Linked DNA regions of Homo sapiens: region 1 is linked to region 2. The links are contacts of gene promoters, found by promoter capture Hi-C in blood cells and fetal thymus (Javierre and others, 2016). All regions are on one chromosome and are shown on one strand. The core of a region is centred on a gene start or on the middle of the fragment in contact, and the rest is flanking DNA. Distances in the headings are between cores, read along the strand shown.

Region 1 (6,412 bases), core at 2,138-4,637, 1.4 Mb before region 2:
AGTATGAGTTATCCTATGACTTTCAAGGTTTGATTTGAAACTGAAAGCTTTGTCACATTCTTCACATTCGTAAGGTTTCTTTCCAGTATGAATGCTACGATGGCATGCAAGGTATGACTTCTGACTAAAGGTCTTGCCACACTCATTACACTTATGTGGTTTCTCTCCAGTATGAATTCTCCTATGTCTTTGAAGGGCTGAATTGTGTCTGAAAGCTTTGTCACATTCTTCACATTTGTAAGGTTTCTCTCCAGTATGAAGTCGATGATGATATGTAAGGGATGACATCTGACTGAAGGACTTGCCACACTCATTACACTTGTAAGGTTTCTCACCAGTGTGACATCTACGATGGCGTGCAAGGTATCGCTTCCGAATAAAGACCTTGTCACATACATCACATTTATATTGTTTCTCTCCTAGATGAATAATCTGATGTTTCCTTAAGAGTGAGCTATAATTAAAGGCTTTGCCACTCTCAATACATTGGAAAGATTTTTCTCTCATGCGTACTTCCTGTCTTTGTGTGAGTAATGAATAATTCAGAAAATTATCCCCATAGTTATTAGATATATGGGTTTTGGGCCTACAAGAAATTCTTTGGGCTGTTGAAACCGAGGAAGCATCGTTGATAGACTTCTCCACTTGATTATTAATTTTCCCTTTGGGCTGAAATATGTGGAGTTCAGACAGATGTGAATGAAAGCTTGATCCAAGCTGATATTTAATAGGCTTGTTTCCAGCATGCCTGTGATCATATTGCTCTGTACTACCCATCAATTTTTTGATTTTTGTCATGGGTGCTTCATGGCCATTTCTTTCATCTTCTTGCCACTGAAACTCAAAGTTATGAATATCTTTCTCAATTTCCTGGAAGGAAAAATCTCCAATGTGATGACGTTCATGTCTTTGCAATGTCCCTGTGTGGATCACTTCTGTATTGCCTTGTGCTGTTGATGAGAACTCCTTCATTGTGCATTTGGAAGAGATACCTACAAAATATAAACACTAATAGGTACACAAAAGACAATACTGATTTTAAACTTCCCAAACATGATCTTCAAAGTTTAGGAACACAAAATCGTAAGATTCTTTAATAAATAAAGGGCGATTACATGTGCTTCAAATTATTATTATGAAAGCTTATTTCCAATATCATGACAAAACACTGAAGGGCACAAACATGTGTAAGCCTAAAATAAGGAGTATTTTTCCACTGTGACCCTAAAGTGTCTAACAGTTTGCAAAAGACATATCACTGTCACATCAATGAAAAGTATATATTCTTCATATTTACAGCATACTTACTGTATACAAATAAATACTAAAGGACCACACAATATAATATACTGGTAAATAATCCACAGCAAGCTCATGTAAGGATAACCAAAATCAATGGAAATTCTGTATTGTTAAATAATCATAGCACTGAGAAGATAAGAAAAGTTTACAAAATTTAGCAAGGCATGGTGGTGCACGTCTGTACTCCCAGCTACTCGCAAGGGTGAGGTACAAGAATTGCTTGAACCCAAGAGGCAGAGGTTGCAGTGAGCCGAGATCGCACCACTGTACTTCAGCCTGGATGACAAAGTGAGACTCCATCTCAAAAAAAAAAAAATATTTTTCTGAATAACTGTCATAAAATTACCTATATCCATGCAGAAAAGGCATATTGTAACATTTAAAATTTTTTTTTTATTTTTGTATTTTTGAGACAATGTTTCACTGTGTCACAACAGGCTGGAGGGCAATGGCCTGATCTCAGCTCACTGCAACCTCCACCTTTTGGGTTCAAGCCATTCTCCTGCCTCAGCCTCCTGAGTACATGGGATTACAGGCACATGCCAGCATGCTTGGCTAATTTTTGTATTTTTAGTAGAGATAGGGTTACATCATATTGGCCAGGCTGGCCTTGAACTTTTGACCTCAAGTGATCCACCCGCCTCAGCCTCCCAAAGTCCTGGGATTGCAGGCGTGAGCCACAGCACCCGCTGGCACTTTGTGACATTAACTAGTAAACTGTGTCAGTTATATTGCATACCACATACCGAAAAGCTTTATGTAAAATCATAAAAATGAATTGGTAAAATAACTGTAACGCATAAAACCAGCAAGCAAATCATAAGTACATTTATACAAACTGCAGAATTCTAAACAATTCCCTGTTAAGAAAAAAGCACAACTTCTACTTACCACCAGCACACAATATAAGAACTGAAATACATGTTAAGATCACTACCTTCTGATGTATGAGGTCAAAAAAATATGCAGCATTATAATGAATAAGAATTCACTAACAGCCGGGTGCAGTGGCTCATGCCTGTAATTCCAGCACTTTGGGAGGCCGAGGTGGGAAGACCATGAGGTCAGGAGTTCAAGAATAGCCTGGCCAACGTGGTGAAACCATAACTCTACTAAAAATACAAAAAAATTAGCTGGGTGTGGTGGCGGGTGCCTGTAATCTCAGCTACTCAGAAGGCTGAGGCAAGAGAATCGTTTGAACCCAGGAGGTAGAGTTTGTGGTGAGCCAAGGTCCCACCACTGCACTCCAGCTTGAGTGACAGGGTGAGACTTCGTCTCTAAGAAAAAAAAAAAGAATTGACTAATAGTGCCGGAGGGTGCAATTATGATGTCACAACTACATTTATGAAACAGCCAGGCAATACAGCAATTCTATATATATATATACATTGCCCTATGTATCTAGTTCACTATGCATAAAATATAAAACATAGAATGTGTACTGGGAAAATTTATAAACTGAGATCAGAGAAAACATTGTATGAAACAAATTAAACAATAAAAACATAAATAAGATGATGCAGGCTCCCTGGTCTGAATGTTTGTATTGGCCAAACGCCATGTTCAGAGTTCTTATTCTCCAATAGGATGTTCCTGCAGATGGGGCCTTTGAGACAATTTGGTCACGGGTGTTGACTACTCGTGAATAGGACTTGTGCTTTCATAAAAAGAGACATTAAAGAGCTCGTTGCCTGTTCCTGTTTCCACCATGTCAGGACATGGCAGGAAGATGGCTGGGCTAAACCATGAGGAAGGCTCTCACCAGGAACCAATGTGGCTGGCACCTTGCTCTTGGATTTCCCACTTTCCAAACTCATGAGAAATAAATTTCTGTGTCTTAAGCCTCCCAGTTTAAGCTATTTCTTTTTTTGTTTGTTTTTGAGACCGAGTCACGCTCTATCACCCAGGCTGGAGTGTAGTGGCACGATTCTCCTGCCTCAAGAGATTCTCCCGCCTCAGCCTGTAGTCTCACTTTGGTGCCCAGACTGGAGTGCAGTGGTGTAACCTTGGCTCACTACAACCTCCACCTCCCGGGTTCAAGATTCTCCTTCCTCAGCCTCTCGAGTACTTGGGATAACAGCCATGTGCCACCACGCCCAGCTAATTCTTGTATTTTTAGTAGAGACAGGGTTTCACCATGTTGGTCAGGCTGGTCTCAAATTCCTTAACTCAGGTGATCCGCCCCTCTCGGCCTCCCAAAGTGCTGGGATTACAGGCTTGAGCCACTACACCTAGCCAATTTCTTGTATTTAGTAGATTCGAGGTTTCACCATGTTGGCCAGACTGGTCTCAAACTCCTGACTTCAAGCTATCTGCCCACCTCAGCATCCCAAACTGCTGGGATTAAGGCATGACCCACCTCAGCTGGCCAGTCTAAGCTATTTCTGACAGGACAGTGAAATGACTGAGACAGGAAAAGAAGCATCTCATGATTCACATCACTGAAGGCTGACAAATCTAATTAAACAAAGGAAGTTTAGGGCCTGTACTATAAATTTTGCAATACTTGAAGCCATCTAATAGCAATAACATGTTTTAAAAACTTTGAGGCCGGCTGAGTGAGGTGGTTCACACCTGTAATCCCAGCACTTTGGGAGGCTGAGGGAGGAGGATCATGAGGTCAGGAGATCGAGACCATTCTTGCTAACACAGTGAAACCCCGTCTCTACAAAAAACAAAAATACAAAAAATTAGCCTGGTGTGGTGGCACATGCCTGTAGTCCCAGCTACTTGGGAAACTGAGGCAGGAGAATCGCTTGAACCTGGGAGGCAGAGGTTGCAGTTAGCCAAGATTGTGCCACTGCACTCCAGCCTGAGTGACAGACCGAGACTCCATCTCAAAAAAAAAAAAAAAAGAAATGAAAGAAGCCTAAGAGTAACTCCAACCCACAAATATATATAAAATTCTCCAGTAAAGGTAAATAAAAAGACAGATAGGCCGGGCGCAGTTTTTCAAACCTGTAATTCCAGCAGATTAGGAGGCCGAGGTTGGCAGATCACCTGAGGGCGGGAGTTCAAGAAAAGCCTGACCAAAAAGGAGAAATCCCATGTCTATTAAAATACAAAATTAGCCAGGCATGGTGGCATATGCCTATAATCCCAGCTACTCGGGAAACTGAGGCAGGAGAATTGCTTGAACCCAGGAGTTGGAGGTTGCAGTGACCCGAGATTGTGCCATTGCACTCTAGCATGGGTGACAAGAACAAAACTTCGTCTCATTAATAAATAAATAAATAGGCAAATAAAAGGACAGATACAGAAACTGGTATATGTGTCCCTTCATAATTCAACTTTTTTTCCTATTATTTAGAAGAAAAAAGCATGAAAAAACACTGTACATATATGTTAATGAAAATGCAGCATACACAGAAATAATTCCGACATAAATAAAGTTCTGGTGGAGAAAGAGAAGCTTTTGCAGGTTGTGGAATCTTTTTTTCTTTGAGACAGAGTCTCACTGTGTTGCCCAGGCGGGAGTGCATGGCACAATCTCAGGTCACCACAACCTCCACCTCCAGGGTTCAAGTGACTCTCCTGCATTAGCCTCTTGAGTAGCAGGGATTACAGGCACCCACGACCGTGTCTGGCTAATTTTGTATTTTTAGTAGAGACGGAGTTTCACCACGTTAGACAGGCTGGTTTTGAACTCCTGACCTCAGGTGATTTGCCCACCCCCGGCCTTCCAAAGTGCTGGGATTACAGGCATGAGCCACTGGGGCACAAGAATTGTTTGAGCCCGAGATGTGGAGCCGGCTGCGGTGAGCCAAGATCGCCCCACTGCGCTGCAGCCTTGGCCACAGAGGGAGACTCCATCATAAACAAACAAACAAACAAAAGTAAAGAAGAAAGGAGTCAAAGCGTGTCTACACAGAAAAGCAATTAAACACAATAAGCAGGAAATGGAGAATGAAGAACAAAAAACAAACCTGAAAAAACAAAATAAGAACAAAATAACAACAAAAAAAATCAAGAAATACAGATAATATGTAACAAAAAGGCAATGGTAAGGTCTTCTGCATCAGTAATATTTCAAATGCAAATATTTAACTCTGCACTCAGAAGGCAAAGACTGACTCAATCAACAGGAACCAACTACTTGTTGTCCACAGAAGACTCATATTAGCCCTAAGGACACACATATGCAAAAAGTTTAAAAACAAAAGCCAATAGTTAGGTACGGGGGTTGGCGCCTGTAATCCCAGCTTCTTGGGAGGCCGAGGAGGATGTCTTGAGCCCAGGAGATCAAGACCAACTTCAACCGCACAGCAAGAACCTGTCTCTAAAAAAAGAAACTAAAAAAGTATCCTGGCATGGTGGCATGCACCTGTACCACTACGAGGGGAGGCTGAGGTGGGACAATCACTTGAGCCCAGGAATTCAAGATTGCAGTGAGCCATGATCACACCATTGCACCCCACCCTTGGGGACAGAGAGAGAGATACTCTATCTAAAAAAAGAGAAAATACAAAGATACGAAAGGACACATCCCCACTTCTGGAGGGAAGTTATCCTCACCCAGGGAGACCAGGTTCCTATAATTCTCCAGCATCACGTCCCTGTATAGAGTCCTCTGAGCAGGGTCCAGGCATTTCCACTCCTCCTGAGAGAATTCTATGGCCACATCCCTGAATGTCAATAGACCCTGAAATGAAAACACATTTTAACCAAATGGTTATGGGAGGAGTTCTTATCTTTACAGAAAATGAGAAGAGGAGAGAGGGGAAAGCATGGATTTAATTGCAGTGAATGTTCTGACAAATCCGAGTAAGGGGTTTTTCACTGCATTTTGTCTTCCCAGTTGTGTTTTGTTATACTTTTATTTTTTTTGAGACAGAGTCTCACTCTGTCACTCAGGCTGGAGTGCAATGGCATAGTCTCCGCTCACTGCAACCTCCACCTCCCAGGATCAAGCGATTCTCCTGCCTTAGCCTCCTGAGTAGTTGAAATTACAGGTGCATGCCACCACGCCAATTTAATTTTTGTATTTTTAGTAGAAACGGAGTTTCACCATACTGGCCAGGTTTGTCTCAGACTCCTGACCTCGTGATCTGCCTGATACAGTCTCTCAAAGTGCTGGAATTGCAGGCCCAATTCTGGGCCCTGCCTGGCG
Region 2 (6,406 bases), core at 3,088-5,587:
CAACGGAATAGGCTCTGTCTGAAAAACAAACAAAAACAACAAAAAAAAGAGTCTCTGTTGCCTAGGCTGGAGTGCAGTGGTGCGATTATAGCTCACTGCAGCCTCAAACTCCTGGGTTCAAGTGTTCCTCCTGCGTCAGCCTCCCATGTAGGTGGGACTATGTGTGTGCACCCTCATGCCTGGCTTTTTTTTTTTTTTTTTTTTTTTTTGTAGAGACAGCATGTTTTAGGCCATTCTTGCATTGCTATAAATAAATACTTGAGGCTGGATAATTTATAAGAAAAGAGGTTTAATTGGCTTATGATTCTACAGGCTGTACAGGAAGCATAGCACTGGCATCTGGTCCTGGGGAGGCCTCAGGAAGCTTACAATCATGGTGGAAGGTGAAGAGGGAGCAGGAGTAAGACAGAGTGGAGGGGGTAGGTGCTGCACACTCAAATAGCTAGATCTTGCTAGTACTCACTCACTATTGCAAGGGCAGCATCAAGCCATGAGGGATCTGCCCCCATGACTGAGACACCTCCCACCAGGCCCCACCTTCAACATTGGGGATTACATTTCCTTTTTTTTTTTTTTTTTTTGAGATGGAGTCTCGCTCTGTCTCCCAGGCTGGAGTGCAGTGGGACGATCTCGGCTCACTGCAAGCTCTGCCTCCTGGGTTCACACCATTCTCCTGCCTCAGCCTCCCGAGTGGCTGGGACTACAGGCGCCCGCCACCATGCCCAGCTAATTTTTTTTTTGTATTTTTAGTAGAGACAGGGTTTCACCATGTTAGCCAGGATGGTCTCTATCTCCTGGTCTTGTGATCCACCTGCCTCGGCCTCCCAAAGTGCTGAGATTACAGGTGTGAGCCACCACGCCCGGCTGACATTGGGAATTACATTTCAACATGAGATTTGGACAGGGACAAATATCCAAACTATATCATTCAGCCCCTGGTCTCCCTCCCCAACAAATCTCATGTCCTCACATTGTAAAATACCATCATGCCTTCCTAAGAGTCCCCAAAGTCTTAACTCATTCCAGCATTAACTCAAAAGTCCAAAGTCTTATCTGAGACAAGGCAAGTCTCTTCTACCTATGAGCCTGTAAAATAAAAAGTTATTTGCTTCCAAGATACAATGGGGGCATAGACGTTGGGTAAACATTCCCATTCCAAAAGGGAGAAAGCCACAAGAAAGGGCTATAGGTTCCATGCAAGTTCAAAACCCAGCAGGGTAGTCATTAAATCTAGTGCAAGGCGTGGGTTCCCAAGGCCTTGGGCATCCTCTGCTCATGGGGCTCCCTCAGGCAGACATCATGGTTTGCAGACAGCTGTATCCTTCCCAGGTGGCCCTACAGAGGAAGGCACACCCGACTTTTCCAATGTCCTGCAGACCCAGCTGTCTCAACTCTTATGGTGATCCAAGAGTGAGGGCCCCTCCCTACTTGGACACCACCCAAGCTGGCAAGTCCTGCTTGGCTAGGAGCAGGGATAAGCACTTGGATGGCAGATTAGGTGACCCCCACCCACTCATGGCATTATGTTTGTCCACAGAGTTTAGTAACAATTGGGACTGCTGGGCCGGAGGCTCTAGTGGTTGGATTTTGACTGGGGCTGCATGGTCTAAATAGCTTTTTTCACATATTTGGGCTTCTGCTGGAATGGATGAGGCCTTTATTTACACAGTCAACAAGAGGCTAGTCTGGGCTTTCTTACAATGTGTTGGAAGATCTCTAAGAGACAAGCAAGCCTTGATGAGCAAGCTTATTTCTCACCTCCATTTGTGTTACACTTGCTACTGTCCTATTGGACACATTAGTCAGTCACTATGGAGAATACTATCCAAAGATGTGAATATAGAGATGCAAGAATAAATTTATGCAATAACCACAAAAGTATTTGTTTCCTTATAATTGTCAGATCAATACCATAAATATCCTTGCACATATTTGTTCTCACAAAGAAAAGTTCTATTGAATCAATTCTTAAAATTCATGGCTCAAGGAGAAGGAAAAGTTTAAACTGGGTAATAACAGACTGTACTACAAAAACATTTTACGAATTTATATAGAAACACAATCCTATACCTAGAAATAATGTAATGCTTAAGAACTTCGAATTATGACCAGTATGATAATATCTCAATTCATTTAAAGCAGTATGTAATTGACAACATTATTACCTACCATGCAGAAAAAGAAGACTTAAAGAGGCTTAGCATAACAGAATGCCTTTGTTCCATGGCCTTATAATCTAAATATGATTTGTCATTCAATCTTTACAAATCTTAATAAGGGTTAAAACATTTATATTTCACGTTTACTTTGCATTTGTTTGAATATTAGTAAAACTGGTATTTTTTAAATTGTTTAGGATCATTTACATTAAAAAAAGTGTCCTGTTTATTTCCTTCATGTATTTATAGAAAATTTTAGGGAGCTTTTAAGTTGATCATCTTTTCCTTATTTTTATTTATTTTTTTTTTTGAGACAAGAGTCTCACTCTGTCTCTCAGGCTGGGGTGCAGTGGCATGATCTTGGCTCACTGCAACCTCTGCCTCCTGGGTTCAAGCGATTCTCGTGCCTCAGCCTTCCAAGTAAATGGGACTACAGGCCTGAGACACCATGCCCAGCTAATTTTTTTTGTATTTTAGTAGCTATGGGGTTTCGCCATGTTGGCCAGGCTGATCTCAAACTCCTGAACTCAGGCAATCCTCCCGCTTTGGCCTCCCAAAGTGTTAGGATTACAGGCATGAGCCACCGCGCCCATCTTTTTTCTTATTTCTTTTCAGATCTCTTTATAGGCCGGGTGAAGGGTGAAGTGGCTCACACCTGTAATCCCAGCACTTTTGGAGGATGAAGTGGGAGGACTGCTTGAGGCCAGTTCAAGACCAGCTGGGCATCATAGTGAGACCCTTGTCTCTACAGAAAATTAAAAAATTAGCCAGGTGTGGTGGTGCCCACCTGTAGTCCCAGCTATTCAGGAGCCCAGGAGTTCCAAGTTACAGTGAGCTGTGATCTCCCCAGGCACTCCAGACTGGGCAACAGAGTGGACCTTGCCTCAAAAAGAGACAAAAAAAAAACAAAAAAAAAGAAAAACTCTCATATACCAAGGGTGAGAAGAGCAAATGGAACACGAACTTGACTCTGAAAAATAGTTTGACAATTTCTCTGTATATTTATATACTGATACCTATATCACACACATAGATTCACACAGGCATTTCCTTTCTCTCATTCTTCTAATATAGGAAGTTTGGTTGGATTTATATTTACAGTTCAGCATTGCCATGACTTTGCACATACTATTCGCGGTTGGCACACGTAGTATAACGTGATCTCCTTCTTAACCTTTCTTTCTTTTGTTTTTTTTTTGAGATGGAGTTTTGCTCCTGTTGCCCAGGCTGGAGTGCAATGACGCCATCTTGGCCCACAGCAACCTCCGCCTCCCGGGTTCAAGCGATTCTCCTGCCTCAGCCTCCCGAGTAGCTGGGATTACAGGCATGCGCCACCATGCCTGGCTAATTTTGTATTTTTAGTAGAGACAGGGTTTCTCCATGTTGGTCAGGCTGGTCTCGAACTCCCGCTCTCAGGTGATCCGCCCACCTCGGCCTCCCAAAGTGCTGGGATTACAGGCGTGAGCCACCGCGCCCGGCCTCTTTCCCAACCTTTTTTTTCTCACTGAAGTGGTCCTGTTCCCTTAATTTCTGGCCACTTCTCCTGAGTCCAGCCCTCATATTTGGCTCCACCTGGGTCCCAGGCTCTCCCCTCCGCCTTGGGAACTATACTTTCTGGCTTTTACTGGCTTTTCCCCATGCCTTTCACCCAACATAATTTTGGCACGTTCCAACCGTTTTCATTACCTAGTCTGTGACTGCTACCCCTGTTCCGTCAGCGTAGCTAACAGCCCTCTTCTGCGTTCAAAAGGCGCTTCAAGCTACTTTGTTAGAAATCTGGCTTTGGCCGAAGTGTCCCCTCTCGGCCGGTTCTCCTTTTCCCTCACAAGGAACTGTTTCCTAACCTTTGTACAAAGTGTAAACGTCGCGGCCATCTTAGCCTTCTATTCAGCTGCTGAAAGGGATTTACCTCCACGCCATTTTTGTCTTGTGTAAACTGGAGCCTCTGTATATGGACCCGTATTTATGAAGGGTTGAGGTGCCAGGAAATGGGACAGTTTCAGTGCTCTTTCATCTTCCCGGCCATCCCCGGTCACCCCCGGTCACCCCCGGTCACCAGCGCCAAAACGCGCCCTTTGCCTTGTGTACGTCAGATACTCAAAGATGGCGGCCCCCATGGAGCCAAGGCGACGAGGGCGCGGCCATCTTGCATCTGCGCAAACGCTGGGAACGCCTCCGACCCTGGATAGTCGCCGTCAGGCACTGAGGAGGCCGAGAGATGAGGCCGGAGCCCACCAAGTTCTGGGAAGTAAGTTCAGTCACTGGGTGGTCGCTGTGGTGACGGGGGAGGAAATTCTGTCCGTGGCTGGGCGTGTTCGTGGACAGTGGTGATGGACTGGTATCTGTCGGCGCCAGCGTTTGGCGACGCCAGTGGAATTCTTTCAGGAGCTTAGCGTGGGTCCGATTCCTATCGCAGGGGAACTACAAGAGGTCCGTGATAGGGTGTGTGTGTGTGTGATCGGGGTACCTCTGGGACCAGTCACAGGGTCCTCGTGTAGTTTGTGGTTAAAGATCTCTAGAGATCCGCTACTGAGTGCCCAAGTCACATTCTGGTGTCTTTGGTGTTGTCCTTTGGCGGGGCTCAGTGATTGCGAACTGGAGGGTTTGTTTTGTCAGCGAATCGGTTTATGGTTCAGGTTTTGTTTGGGACTAAATGATTGAGGAACTGTCTTGGGGGTTAAGGTACGGAGGTTTCTGATCCAGGTTTTGGAATTAATCCCGGTGGCGGTGGTGGTAGCGCCACAGATTCCGATGTGGGCTGCAGCTCTGGAGGCCTGGGAACCATGGCAGGTGATGGGTTAGCCCCAGCCCTGGCTGCTGGAACAGAATTGATGCTCATTAGCATTCCCCTTCTGCCCAAGACCCTTCTCCACGACTGGTTTTTAAATCCCCTTTGGCACCTTCCATCACCCCTTGGTCTTGAATCCTCAGAAATGGAAGTTTTTGGCGAGATCAGTCATCTAGCATACCTAAAAGTAGTATGTTTTATATTTAAGATGCGGCTTCTACCCTTTGTCCTGCAAGTTTCCAGCGTATCCTCTTGGATATTTCTTTTCAGGTTCTTTCTGACACAAGTAAGATAACATCTCTGCCATGGTAAGCTCGGTTACTCAAAGATAACCTTTGTCAAATTTTCAGAATATTTCAATTTTAGACGTGTATGTTATGTGCTTAATATTCATAATTCAGATAAATTATGTAAATGGTACTATTATCTTTTTCGCTTTATATTATGTAATAAACATTTAGAAGTTGTTTTTACTGTTTGAGCCGGTGGTACTATAAGTGCATTCACATTAAGTTTATGCGTACATTTGGATAGAAGTGAAATGTTTTAAAATGTTTAGGTATTATTTTTAGGAACATTTTATGATTATCCATTTATCCATGAATTTTGTTTTTCCTGCCTTTAATCTTCAATCTAGACTATTACTTTTATTGCAGTGTATTGCTTTCTGACTCCCCTTTCCTTATAATCTATAACAAAAGATAAATTAATTTTAAATATTTATTTTATATTTGGTCATCTTAATTCTTAGTATTACAATATTTTTCTCTCTGCCTAACATATTATTTTGTGAAAATTTTTGAACCTATGGAAATATTGAAAGAAGTTTAATGTTAATACCAATATGCCTACCACCTAGCTTTTACCATTAACATTGTATTAGATCAGCTCTACTGGTTTTCTAAGTATTCATCCATTCCTCTGTTTGTGAATCATTCCTTATTTGTTGTCGATTTTGGTATATTTCAAAGTAAGTTACAGACATAAGTACCATTCCTCTAAATAATTCTGTATATGATTAACTAGAATTCTACTAATAGCCCTTTAATTGCTTTATTTATTTACTTAATAGGGAGGCATCTGATTTACAGATAATTTTGGTTCGGTATAAAGTAGAGTAAAAGTGGATTTTGAAGTGAAACAAAAGTGGATTTTCAGCCCTGATTCTGCTTCTTGCTCATTGTGTGATTGGCATAACTTGTGTCGCTTTACTTGTTGGCCAAAAGAGGAGTTAAACATCTTTTCCTCACGATTATCTCTGAGGATTATTTTTGGTTTTGTCTTTTGTAAAATTTGTATTTATATTCATTTTTTTCTCTCCCTTCCTCCCGCCTGGTTTCTCTCTTTTTTCTATTAATGAAAACATTTAAAGCCGTAAACTTATATTACTGAACTACCATCAGCAATTTTATTTTAAATGTAGAATGCTAATATTTTTCTGATGTAAACCTGTGTTTTC

What was found. Contacts are between HindIII fragments. The CHiCAGO score rates a contact against its expected background, and 5 or more counts as called.
Region 1: a contact is called between a fragment that was not itself captured here and the fragment with the promoter of ZNF615 in region 2, in 1 of 17 cell types (naive CD8 T cells). The highest score is 6.6, in naive CD8 T cells.

The regions. Positions count from the first base shown.
Region 1 is chr19:53,375,302-53,381,713 of GRCh38, reverse strand. ZNF525 (zinc finger protein 525) reads right to left here. Exons shown (of 4, transcript NM_001348156.2): 3 at 5,818-5,944; 4 at 1-992. Among named protein-coding and RNA genes, the nearest start is that of ZNF525, 13 kb to the right of the region's middle. The HindIII fragment of the contact is 2,659 bases long and covers 2,058-4,716 here.
Region 2 is chr19:52,006,142-52,012,547 of GRCh38, reverse strand. It overlaps ZNF615 (zinc finger protein 615), which reads left to right and starts at 4,337. Exons shown (of 7, transcript NM_001199324.2): 1 at 4,337-4,407; 2 at 5,218-5,255. LOC124904755 (a long non-coding RNA gene) reads right to left here and starts at 4,250. Exons shown (of 2, transcript XR_007067321.1): 1 at 4,069-4,250. RefSeq lists enhancers at 3,827-3,906, 3,967-4,576. The HindIII fragment of the contact is 6,775 bases long and covers 1,749-6,406 here.